Linked DNA regions of Homo sapiens: region 1 is linked to region 2. The links are contacts of gene promoters, found by promoter capture Hi-C in human tissues and cell types (Jung and others, 2019). All regions are on one chromosome and are shown on one strand. The core of a region is centred on a gene start or on the middle of the fragment in contact, and the rest is flanking DNA. Distances in the headings are between cores, read along the strand shown. Region 1 has its middle 380 kb from the start of FSIP2. Region 2 holds the start of FSIP2 (fibrous sheath interacting protein 2).

Region 1 (6,663 bases), core at 807-3,306, 380 kb before region 2:
GTGAAAGAATGCAATATCACAATTGATTAAATTGTTGTAAATATACATATGATTTTTCTGGAGCAACTGTGATAATTGAAACCTTTTAGCATTACACTAAATTAATTTGGAAAGAATGATTTTACAGATATGAAGATAATTTATTTCAAAGTGGGAATAAGCCATATTTACTTCAGCAAGTAAAATAATTTAGCTGAAATAACTAGATTGAGGCAGAAGCCAGTTTTGCTTTGATTAACCAAATAAATGCAGTGATTCCACCACTTATTTTCTATGTGTTTTTATCTAGATGTGTATGCATGTATGTTTGTATACAAATGCACTAGCAATGAATTTCATTGTCATGCACGAATGTCACTGAATCTTGATAAGAAAACAAAATTCAAGCAAATACTTTAATTTCTCCCCCACAGATTTACCAAGTCTTGAATGCAAATGAGTGATGCAAATTGTAAACAAATTATCTTTTGATGTTAGATGTTTATGATTTATATTGTCGTTGAAACCCATCTTGAGAAATCCTGTTTTAAATCATGAAATTATCCCTGCCTCTTCAGCATATACTTTTTGATAATCTTGAACACGTTTATATATTCCTTCTTCCATCCATTTTTTTCATCAGCTTTTGAGTGCCTATCATGTTACAGGCTTCTGAGAAGTATTATAGATAGCCAGGCGGTGTGGCTCACTCCTGTAATCCCAGCACTTTGGGAAGCTGAGGCGGGTGGATCACGAAGTCAAGAGATCAAGACCACCCTGGCCAACATGGTGAAACCCCGTTTCTACTAAAAATAAAAAAAAATTAGCTGGGCATAGTGGCACGTGCCTGTAGTCCCAGCTATTCAGGGGGCTGAGACATGAGAATCACTTGAACCCAGGAGGCAGAGGTTGCAGAATGAGCCAAGATTGTGCCACTACACTCCAGCCTGGTGACAGAGCAAGACTCTGTCAAAAAAAAGGGGGGAGGGCAATACAAATGACATATTTTAGTTACCTGATGTTGTATAATAAATTCTTCCAAAACTCAGTGTCATTAGAAAACAAAAATTCTATTACATTTAACAAATGTGTGGGCTGTCTGGACACAGTTGGATATTTCTTCTCTTTGATGCAATGTCAGTTGGTGCTGCAGCAATCTGCTTCAGGGCTTGAGAGAGCTGTTATATATATATATATAAAGGGGAGTTTATTAAATATTAACTCAGACCATGCCTGCTTATAGTCTAGCCATGCTAGCAGTTGATTAGATTGTGCCCACCCAAATTAAGAGTGGGTCTGCCTTTCCCAGCCCACTGACTCAAATGTTACTCTCCTTTGGCAACACCCTCACAAATACACCCAGGATCAATACTTTGTATCCTTTAATCCAATCAAGTTGACACTCAGTATTAACTATCACAAGTCCACCTCTTGTCAACTTGAATCCATAAACTTGAAGTCATATGTAATCTTCAAATAAGGACAATAATAAGGTCATAACTACCCCTAATATAATACAACTGTCTTTCATACAACTGGAAATGCACCAATCCGTAGCCCAAATATTATTATATAAAGTTAATAATACTTAAATGTTGATGTAGAGTCAATAAATCTTACGTCACATGATAAAGGAGAAAAGAAATAAATTGAAAATATTTTCTTAGTACAAGTGTATACATGCACATACATGTTTTTAACAAAAGAATGAGGAAATACAACAGTTACAGTCATTGTTTCTGCAGCTGCTCATGTAATTGCAGCTGGTGTCGATAACTACATTCTATTACCCATTCTGTATTCCCTTTGCCTTCAGCAAGCACCTCAACAGGTTGTGGTATTTTTCCTGGTGGAGTGACCCAAAACTTCATTCCAGAAGGGACTGGGTAACTTGTAGTCCTGCCTGGATTGGGCTGTTGTAGATTCCCATTGACCTTAATTACAGGGCATGGTAATACTAAGAGACACCCTAATGAATCTCCTGTATTCCATGCATACTCTTCCTTACCTCTGTTGGGGAGAGGTAGACTGATTTCATCTTGATAGTCCGGGTCAATAACCCCAACCAACACTGTAACTCCCTTCTTGGCCTATTGACTTAAAGGTAGGAGGAGGCCAAAGTGTCCAGGTTGCAATCTCAACTTCTAGTTTAATGGAATCGTTGTTGTGTCTCCTGGTGGCAGCATTCCTCCCTCTGGAACTAAGACCCCTAGGCCGGCAGAACGTAATGTCACAGGAACAGGAAGCAAAAAGTTTGCTAATGGATAAATAGGGGTGATGGTGAGTGGTGTCACTTCCACTTCCACCCCTCGATTGCTGGACCTGTGAATCCTGGCTATGGGAAAAACAGTACTATGTGTTGGACACTGATTCAGAACATACATGGCTTCTGGAGAACTTTGCCCCAGGCCTGCAAAAAATTGTCACCTACTTGGCATTGTAATTCTGACCCCAAGAGGCCATTCCACTGTTCTATCAATTCAGCTGCTTCAGGGTGATGGGAAACATGGTAAGACCAGTGAATCCCATGAGCATGAGCCCACTGCTGCACTTCTTTAGCCTTAAAGTGAGGGCCTTTGTCAGACGCAATGCTGTGTGGAATACCATGATGGCGGATAAGGCATTCCATGAGTCCACGGATGGCAGACTTGGCAGAAGCACTGCATTCAGGATAGGTAAACCAATACCCGTAGTAAGTGTTTATTCCAATGAGGACAAACCTCTGCCCTTTCCATGATGAAAAGTGTCCAATATAATCAACCTGCCACTAGGTAGCTGGCTGATCACCCTGAGGAATGGTGACATATCAAGGGCTCAGTATTGTTCTCTGCTGCTGGCAAATTCCTTTCATGAAAAGTTCACAACCAGATGCACTGCTCAAAGTTCTGCCAACTGGGAAGATTTCTCTTCACTGCTGCCTTCAGGGATGTCCTAGAAAGGGGCTGTACTGCTGTAGCTGTCCACTTTCGGGTGGTGCCTGCATATTGTGCAGAACCATCTGTGTACAAGGCCGTAGTCTTCTCTTCCTCTGTCAACTGTTCATAGGGAACTCCCCATGAAGCTATTGGTGCAGAATGGGGGAAAGAAGTGGCAGGAGTGGAGACCATGAGCATTTGAGCCACTTCCTCATGTAACTTACTTGTGCCTTCAGGACCTGCTCGAGCCCAACCATGTATATACCACTTCCATTCGATGATGGAATACTGCTGTGCATGACCTACTTTATGGTTAGATGGGTCAGAAAACACCCAGTTCGTGGTAGGCAGTTCAGGTCGCATGGTGACTTGATGACCCGTAGTCAAATGTTCAGTTTCCACCAAAGCCCAGTAACAGGCCAAGAGTTGTCTCTCAAAAGGAGAGTAGTTATCTGCAGAAGATGGCAGGGCCTTGTTCCAAAATCCTAGAGGTCTCCCCTGTGATTCACCACTAGGGTCCTGACAAAGGCTCCTAACAGCATCTCTATCTGCCACTGACACCTCAAGCATAATTGGATCTGCTGGGTCATATGACTCAAGTGGCAGAGCAGCTTACACAGCAGCCTGGACCTGTTGCTGAGCCTTCTCCTGTTCTGGACCCCACTCAAAACCGACAGCAACTTATCCTTCACCTTAGAAGAAATATCTCAACAGTTCCCACACCCTGGATAAGTAGAAATTCCAGTGAGGTAGAAAGTCCCTGAATTTTAGTCGAATTTATTTCCCATCCTCTTGCACACAAATATCTCACCAATAAGTCCAGTGTGTTTGCTAATTCTTGCTCATGGGACCCAATCAGTATAATTTCATCAATATAATGAACCAGTGTGATATCCCGTGGATGCAAAAAGCAATCAAGGTGTCTTCAAATATGATTATGACACAAAGCATGAGAATTGATATGCTCCCAAAGTAGGACAGTAAAGATTTGTTGCTGGCCTTACCAGCTGAGGGCAAATTGCTTCTGGTGGGCCTTATGGATAAGAATGGAGAAAAAGGCATTTGCCAAGTCAATGGCTGCATACCAGATACCAGGAGATGTGTTAATTTGTCAAGCAATGAAACCATATCTGGTAGAGCAGCTGCAATGGCAGTCACCACTTGGTTAAGCTTAAAATAATCCACTGTCATTCTCCATAATACATCAGTCTTCTGACAGGTCAAATAGGAGGGTTGAATAGAGATGTGGTGGGAATCACCACCCCTGTGTCTTTCAAGTCCTTGATGGGTCCACAGTATTGTGCAGAACCATCTGTGTACAAGGCCCTAGTCTTCTCTTCCTCTGTCAACTGTTGATAGGGAATTCCCCATGAAGCTATCGGTGCAGAATGGAGGAGAGAAGTAGCAGGAGTTGTCTCCAATTAGAGTGGCACTAATCTCTGCAACCCCTAAAGAGATACGATATGGTTTTTGATTTACTATTTTTCTGGGTAGATGCAGCTCTAATGACTTCCATTTGGCCTTTCCCACTGTAATAGCCCTCACCCTACCAGTCATGGAGCCAATGTGGGGATTCTGCCAGCTGCTAAGTATGTCTATGCCAATTACGCATTCTGGCATTGGGGAAATGACCACAGGATGAGTCTGGGACCCACTGGATGCACTGTAAGTCAGACCTGAGCTGAAACTCCATTAATTACCTGACCTCCATAAGCTTCTACTTTAACTGGAGGACCACAATAACGTTTAGGGTCCGCTGGTATCAACGTCAGCTCAGAGCCAGTGTCCAGTAGTCCCCCAAATGTCTGATCATTTCCCTTTCCTCAGTACACAGTTACCCTGGTAAAAGGCTGGAGATCTCCTTGGGGGAGGATGGGAGAAAGATTCACTGCATAAATTGTCGGTAGTGTAGTGGGGTCCTTCCTCCAGGGGAGCTGGACTCCCCTTCATTCAAGGGGTTCTGGATCTGTAAATTAGCTCAAGTCTGGAAATTGATTGAACAGCCATGATTCTCTGTTTTTATAATTCAAATTAGTTTTTTGTCCATTCAACCTAGAAATTTTCTGCTTGTATAAATTAAGTAGGAATGCAGTAGATTTCCTATTAATTTCACACTTAAGAACACCGTGATTGATTAGCCAATGCCAGAGCTCTACAGGAATCAGACTATTCTGATTGCTGCTTTGCCTCTGCTGTTCATTATGATAGTTATGCTCACCTTGCCTTTGACTGTTCAGTGCCACCACTTGGCCCCTGCCACCTTGGGATCCAATTATTCCTATTGTATTTAAACTTTGTAGTTGGCTGACTGCGGTTCCCACCATCAGATCTGACATACAGAGAAGAGCAATTACAGGACTCTTCAAAGATTCAGGTACTGCCCTCAAAAATCTATTTCACAAGGCATTGGTCAAGTGTATGTCTTCTGGACCCTCCCAGCTGGGATTATTAGGTCTAAAGTGACTAATCCACTCTACCTTCCCAATCTCCCTAAGCCTTTGGATCCCTTCCTCTATATTAAACCAAAGGAGATCGGGCATTTCTAGCTCGCTCACAGTGGGCCATCTTTTAATTCATATTTCAGCTAACCAAGCAAATAAACTATTAGAATCTTTTTTAACTCCCTGAGCTGCAACATTAAATGCAGCGTCCCTACTTAGTGGGCCGAAATCAATAAATTCAGCCTGACCCAACTCTTTATTCCTTCCACCATTATCCCACACCCTTAATTTCCATCCCCATGCCTTTTCTCCAGATTTCTGTTTATATAAATTAAAAAACACAAGGAGTTCTTTTTGAGTGTAGCACACCACCTCATGGGTCACACTCTCAACCACACCTCTAGGGGTCTGCAGGAACTTTAGTCTAGTTATAGATCTAGAAGCAAACATGGGTGTTAGGGGTGGCTCCTGAGGAGAATCAACATTATCTTGCCTGGCAACTGCCTCAGGGGAGGCCATCACTGTTGCCTCAGGCAGCGCAGGGTTTATCGCCTCAGACAAAGGTGGAAAGGCTGATGGCAGCATGGGTCGGGGAGGGAATGTTGCCACTACTGGGGATGGAGAAGCTCTTTCTTCTGGTAAAAAAGTTTCATCAGGGTTTACAAACTCAATGTCCCAGCTTCATCAGTGTCCTCCCACATATCCCCATTACAAGTTGCAGGGTCCCATTCTTTTCCAATCTATGCCCTCACTTTAACAGTAGACACTTGGCGAGGCTGTGCATGCACCTTTTGTTGCAGGTCAGTCACTCGCATGATAAAAGATTTTGCAGTGGCTCATGACTGTAATCCCAGAACTTTGGGAAGCCAAGGTGGGTGGATTACCTGAGGTCAGGAGTTCAAGAGCAACCTGGCCAACATGGCGAAACCCCATCTCTACTAGAAATACAAAAATGAACCAGGTGTGGTGGCAGGCGCCTATAATCCAAGCTACTGGGGAGGCTGAGGCAGGAGGATCACTTGAGCCCGGGAGGCGGAGGTTGCCATGAGCCAAGATCACACCACTGCACTCCAGGCTGGGTGACACAGTGAGACTCCGTCTCAAACAAAAAAAAAAGAAAAAAAAAAAGAAAAAAAAATAGCTTGTGTGTGTTTTTTCACAATTTCAGCTCTTTCTTTACAGGAGTTAAGACTTTCACTCAGGACAATCTTAGATTTCAGGCTCAGTATCTACTTCTGAAGCCGGGAGATAGAATCTCTGAGTTCATCATTTTCTCTCATCACTTTGTCCACTGAACTTAGGAGCAACCAACCAGTTTCATAATGTTC
Region 2 (6,108 bases), core at 7-2,506:
ATTAGTGGGACTTGGGGACCAACTAAACATGGGAGATAAGGGGAAAAAGAAGTATCTAGAAGCATTCCTTAGTTTCTGGCTTGGGTAGACTTTGGTATTGTCACTGAGATAGGAAATGCAGGAAGAAGCCTTTGTTTTTTTTTCCTGTTTTGGTGAAAGTTGTGTGTTGAGATTTGAGTAGATTGAATTTAAGACAATTGTGGGATATCCATATGGAAGCTGGCAATAGACTATATCCCAAGCTTAGATTTCAAATTTAAGAGTCCTAAGCACATGTGTGGAATTACAACAAAGAGAGCAGAGTGCACTGATTAAGAAAACAGCCTCAGGAGCCACCATTTAACAGCAATTGTCAGTCTTCCTCAATCTTTGAAAAATAAAGAGTAATTATTGATAAGGCTACTAAAATAAATAAATGTTTAAAAGGGTGTTTGGCACAGTATATGGAAGTTAGTAGATTCTGAAGAAATGGTAACTGTTATTACTAGTCGGGCCAGAAATAAAAGAGAACAGCAGTGGACCAAAGAAAGTATGAAGTTAAGTCTAAACAACAGGTGGGTTAGACACATACTGTCTCTGCCCTCAGAATACTCCCAGTCTAGTTAGCTTCTTACAGTCAGGGGCCATATTTTACTCACGGCTGTGTCCTGCCCAGTGCTTAGCTCAATGACTGGCCCAGAAGCGTCAAGCACTTTATAAATTTCGGCTGGATGGTTGAGGAGAAAGAGGGAAATAGGATCAAGCTGCAGGAGCAGAGAGGAGGCAGTGGGAGAGTGGTAAAGGGCGCTAGAAAGGAGAAGGAAACCTAGGGGACAGAAGAGGCAGGAGGAAGGCAATGAGCCCCTTAGGAAGCCAACGCGTCTGCCTTGTGGACCTGGTGTGGGAAGAAGCTGTGGGAGCCTGGGGATGGGGTGTGGTCTATATGGGGGAAGATGTAGAATGGGCAAAAACAATCACTCGGGAATTTTTATTGAACGGAACAGGGCTCCTTGGAAGCCAGGGGAAATTAACCAGTTACCCACCAACAAAGCTTATACGTTTTCGTTAGGATTGGCTAAGGCGTGATGGTTTCAGAGAAAGATGAAGTTTCAACTGTGGTCCTCTCAGATCAGGCCTCTCGGACCGATTTTCCCAGCTCTGCGGGCGCTCTACGCGCTGGCGCGAGCCGCCCCTCAGGAGGCCACCGCCCTTCTGGGGCCGCTACCATTGGAAGCCTGGAACGCGGGGGGCGGGGCTGAGGTCGTTGGGCTCTGGCCATTCCTGGTCAGGTCCGGACAGAGGGACAACGGGGTGCTAGAGAAGGAGAGCGGGGCGGGTGAGGAAGGGGCTGAGGGGGCTGTGCCGGCCATGGAGCTGTACCTCGGCGCCTGCTCCAAGCCTGCCAAAGTCGCCGTCACCAAGACGGTCGCCAGCGTCCTGGCCGCGGACACCCAGCAGTGCAGAGACGTGAGTGGCCGCAAGCTGGGCGGCGTCGCCCTCTGGCGGCCGCAGGCCTGCTGGGGAGCGGGGCAGGGATCGCCACACACGGGTCGCGAGGCTCCCAACTGTCCCCCGTCAGGAGGCTGCCCTCTTGCGGCGCCCGGGGGCGGTGGCGGTGGCTCGGACTGTACCGGCCGCAACTGGCAGGCGCGGGACGCCAGGAGAGCTGGTGACCAGGGAAAACGGGAGGACTTCAGGATGCCCCGAACCCTGATTGTATAATTCTTCGGAGTCTTTGGTTGCAATGGAAGTAGATTGGTCTAAACTAAACTAATACTGCCTAAAAGGAAAGACAAAACTCTCCAATTGTGTCTGACAGGGCGTGCACAAAACCCACTTTGCAGGGGTTGGACCGGCTCAGCTACTGGACCTACCTCTCGGGGTCAAGCTGCCTGTGATCCCAGGAAGCAATGCTGTATTCTATACTACGAATTTCGGTGAAAAGGTGAACAAGTTTTTATCGTCTTTCTTTCCTTTACCCTTTACTACTTGCTGTTTAACTCAAAGGCTGCATCATACAAAATTCATTAAAGGAATTTGCATCAACATTTACAGGAAAAAGAAAATCCCACATCTGACCGAAGGTATTGTTTAGAATGCATATGAAGCACTTTCATCTTAATGGTTTGGACATAATCATATTCCAGAAAGTTTAGATTCTTAGTCCTTAATTAACAATTCACGGTACCATATTAATATTCCTTATAATAAAACTTCATATATACTTATATAGTAAGATTTGATGTACTTAGAAACATGTTTAGAAGCTGAAAGGTTATTAGTGATAGCTGCCATTTAATGATATGTTACGATTTTAACTGACAGTATCTTGGACCAAACTCTCTTCACGGGAAACATTATTTTGTTTTGAGTTGAATTCTATTTTACACATAAAGAAAAAAAAAAGAACTGAAACAGTGGGACTTAAAATGAGTTAATATGTTTAGTACTTTAACCTTACTTTAATGAAAGAAAGCCCTGCCTCAATGAGGAAGAGACTCCATAATTTGCCCCAGCCTTTCCATCCAGCATTGTCTCCAACCAGAGAGGCTCAGCTTCTTCAAGTTGAGTCTTTCACACCTACCCATAAATACCATGCTAATACTTCAGTATTTTGTCAACTTTGCCCCCAAACCTGGCATACCTTGTCTTCTTCTCCCCAGTCTATGAATCTGAGCTATCAAGATTCTCTGAACTGTGATAGCCCCCCCGTTAGCTTATTTTTGCTTAGAGTTCACGTTGCCCTTGATTTGTGTGATCTCACTTACACAAACCATAGTTAATCATACTGGATTATAGTGTGTACTTCCCTTAAGCCTTTTCATGTTTTTAGTCCTTAACACCACACCTACCCCCAAACCTCCCCAGCCTTTGACTAAGTAGTCAATGCTGAAGGAGGTTTAGTACATTCTTGTTGACTGGTTGCTTTTATCAGTTTTGCAAAAAGTTCTACAAGAAAGAATTCTAAGTGGCCCACTTACCCTTCTAATGTCTATGATGTCATCAGAAATAAATAGAACCCCTTGGTATTTGATACTTGCTTAATGTCTTATACAGTTCAGGCTGTTATAACAATGTACCATAGACTGGGTGGCTTAGAAATAACGTAAATTTATTTATCATTGTTCTGGAGCTGGAAGTCCAAGATCAGGACACCAGCATGGTCAGATTCTCGTGGGGGTCCTTTGAAGTCCTTTCATTATTACCTCCCTGCATGGTAGAAAGAAGGCTGGAGAGTTCCCTGTGGTCTCTATAGGAACATTATCTCCCTTGATGAGGACTCCACCCTCATGACTTAATTATCCCCCAAGGCCCCAGCTCCTAATGCCATCACACTGAAGATTAGGATTGCATATGAATTTTGGGGGCATACAGTCAATCTAACACACTAAATAAACATGATTTCTTAAAACAAGTTTTGTTTCTGAAAAAAAGTATAATTGCTCTTTAAAAAAAACTAATCTGTTCTACTAGATTAGAGCAAGTGAACTACAAATATACCAACTTCACACAACTTGAGTCACATCCACACAAACTAACTTTGCAAAAACGTGCTTGAAATTTATTCCATTACAGGTGATATAATTCCTCTTTAGTGCATAAACTTAGAACTGTGGCTTTTGTCTCCTCCCTTAAATATATTATTTTACTCTATTGCCATTTTCTCTGTCGACCATTAATTCACTTGTCTACTACTTTTCAAAAAGATGTTCTATTTTTTATTACATTAATTCTCCCAAAATTTATTCATTTAATGAAATTAGTCACCATATAATTTCTCAGAAGAATTTTCTCTTTCAGTGTACTCTCCTTCATGAGGTAATGGTTAATAGTCACCTTTTAAGGGCAACCAGTTATTTTAATTGTCAATAGAAAAGTTACTCTGGCTCAAATGGGTGGATTTGTTTAAAAGTGTTCTTAGTTTACAGGTCAGGAGCTCAGGTTTGGTCTTGAGAAACATATGCCTGTCACAGCTAAAAGTTAACATTTTTTAAAAGTTTACAGCTAAATGTCAACATCTGAAAGAAATATTCAATCTACTCCTTGACTTATTATTATTGATCGTTTCCCTTCCAGGAAAGATCTGGGCTTCATATGTGGATTCACTGAATTCAAGACTCTCCCCTTTACGAGTTCTTTCTTTGCCTTCTCAGGAAAGCATTGGTAACCAGGGAATCTAGCTTTCTGATTAGGCTCCTTGGAAGGAATTAAAGTTTAATGTTAAACAAGAGGTCAGAAACTTAAAGAAGCTTTTAAATGCAAAGGAAGAGCTAGTATCTTATTTTGTTCCTCTCATCTACCTTTTACCCATATGCAAAGCATTCTCCTACCTACCTTTCGAGAGTTCTTATTAGGGTCCAACCCAGCCAGACTCCATAGTGTTCAGGAATTGGACTGCAACTGTGGTTACGGCCAGACTGGAAACAGAGGACCCAAATTGGTGCCTCTAGACATGTCGGGATTGGTGCTTAGTGTTGTTGTGGTAGTATAAATTGAATTTCATGCCTGCAAATAGGGCAGGTGCTCTCTGGTTTCCCATATTACCTACATACTCCAATTATCTGTCTCCTGAGCCAGTGCCTGATTTAACATATTTTGAGCTATTATAAAACTTAGTTTTTCTGGCCCAGCAAACTTAAAACAGAAAGAAGAGATGTAAAAACAGCCTTAACACAACTTCCTACTCTTATTCTCTACTTTTTCCATTTCAGAGGTCCCCCAATAAGCCATTATCACCATCTTGCTATTGAAAAACTGAGAACTCACACCAAAAAACTCACTTTGCTAATGTTTTAATTCATGGTGAGATTGAATAACTCAGCTGTTTTCTCTAATGCAGCAGATATAAGAAACATGACTAGAAACTGATTATCTTTTCCTCCTTTTATATGTTAATGGCTGTTGCCTAAAGGTGTATTTGGTCTTCACACAAATAGAAAAACTTCAATTTCTATAAATATTCTTTAAAATTGGTTCTTTAATAAGGTGAACTGCATAATATAGACCTCAGGTATTCTTCTTACTCTAGCACTCAGAGATTGTTGGTTCCTTGCATTAAAAACCTCAAGATGCAATGACTCTTTAACTCAAAATCGTTAACATCTAAGTTTTACTTCTACTATTTGTTAAAGTTATTTTCATAAATTTTGATGAAACATTTTGTTATTTTTGTTCATTTTAAGATGATTGAAATATAATCATAATTACTATTAATCCTTTTATCTTTTGAATAGAATATTTTGATTCGAGAGAGGGAGAAGGAAATGAGAGAATCCTAGCGTTGGCTTTGTACCTTAAAACAAACTATATGCTATTCCCTTTCTTTTCCTCTTCTCTTTTCTTATTTGGCTGAGAGTCAGGGGCTGAAGAGGATTAGAGGAGGAACTGATTGGGTTAAGGTGAGTCTTTGGGATAATTTATGCAGGTGAGGAGAGAGGAAAGGAAAGGCAGGAAAGCATGCCCAACTCCAATTTTTCTGTGGCTGTTTTTCCCCATTTCAGATTCTTTTGGCACATTTTATTTTCAATGAACATTCTAATCATTTTGATAGATTATTTAAAGTGAAAATGCATTAATTTTACATATTTTTGAATCTGTGTTTGCAGCTTTTTCGACCTTCTTATGGTTTTAACCTGACTGATCCCTATTGTCGACTTTTGGAAAACCAATATAAAAGCCTCCATGATCCACATTTAAAAGCATACTATAAGCGCAAAGATATTTTGAAGAGATTAAAGAAAGGTGGCTACATCACCAGCAATAATAAAGTGGGTTGAAAATTACTTCTTTTTTTAATCAATGAAACCCTTTAAAACTTGATATAAACTTGTTTCTGTACCTCACTCGGGGGGCCTGTGTCACTTTTAACTTGGTCATGAGACAATACTTAATAGGCAGTTCTATAAATTTCTCAGTATTTGAATCAAGAGAAATCAGACAACAGTTGTTGCTAAATGAAAGTACTTCTTCCTTCACCTTTTTTCTTTGTAATATAAAAAGATTATTGACAAATAATTTGAGAATACAAAGATATATTATTTTCCCACGTGTATTATAGCCTTCTTTCTCTGTCTTTAATGGCACTGTATACTTGTCAAGAATTATGTTCCATATACTTTTAAAAACTTG

The links. The method cuts DNA at HindIII sites, captures the fragments that hold promoters and counts their contacts. A contact is called where the count stands out against the background at its distance.
Region 1: a fragment that was not itself captured here is called in contact with the fragment with the promoter of FSIP2 in region 2 in 1 of the 25 tissues and cell types used here (H1 embryonic stem cells).

What each region holds. Positions count from the first base shown.
Region 1 is chr2:185,359,261-185,365,923 of GRCh38, forward strand. No RefSeq gene overlaps it. Among named protein-coding and RNA genes, the nearest start is that of FSIP2, 380 kb to the right of the region's middle. The HindIII fragment of the contact is 4,559 bases long and covers 1-4,336 here.
Region 2 is chr2:185,737,548-185,743,655 of GRCh38, forward strand. FSIP2 (fibrous sheath interacting protein 2) reads left to right here and starts at 1,257. Exons shown (of 23, transcript NM_173651.4): 1 at 1,257-1,446; 2 at 1,799-1,924; 3 at 5,586-5,747. The coding sequence starts at 1,348. FSIP2-AS2 (FSIP2 antisense RNA 2) reads right to left here and starts at 2,930. Exons shown (of 3, transcript NR_110217.1): 1 at 2,832-2,930. RefSeq lists a silencer at 1,389-1,658. The HindIII fragment of the contact is 10,800 bases long and covers 637-6,108 here.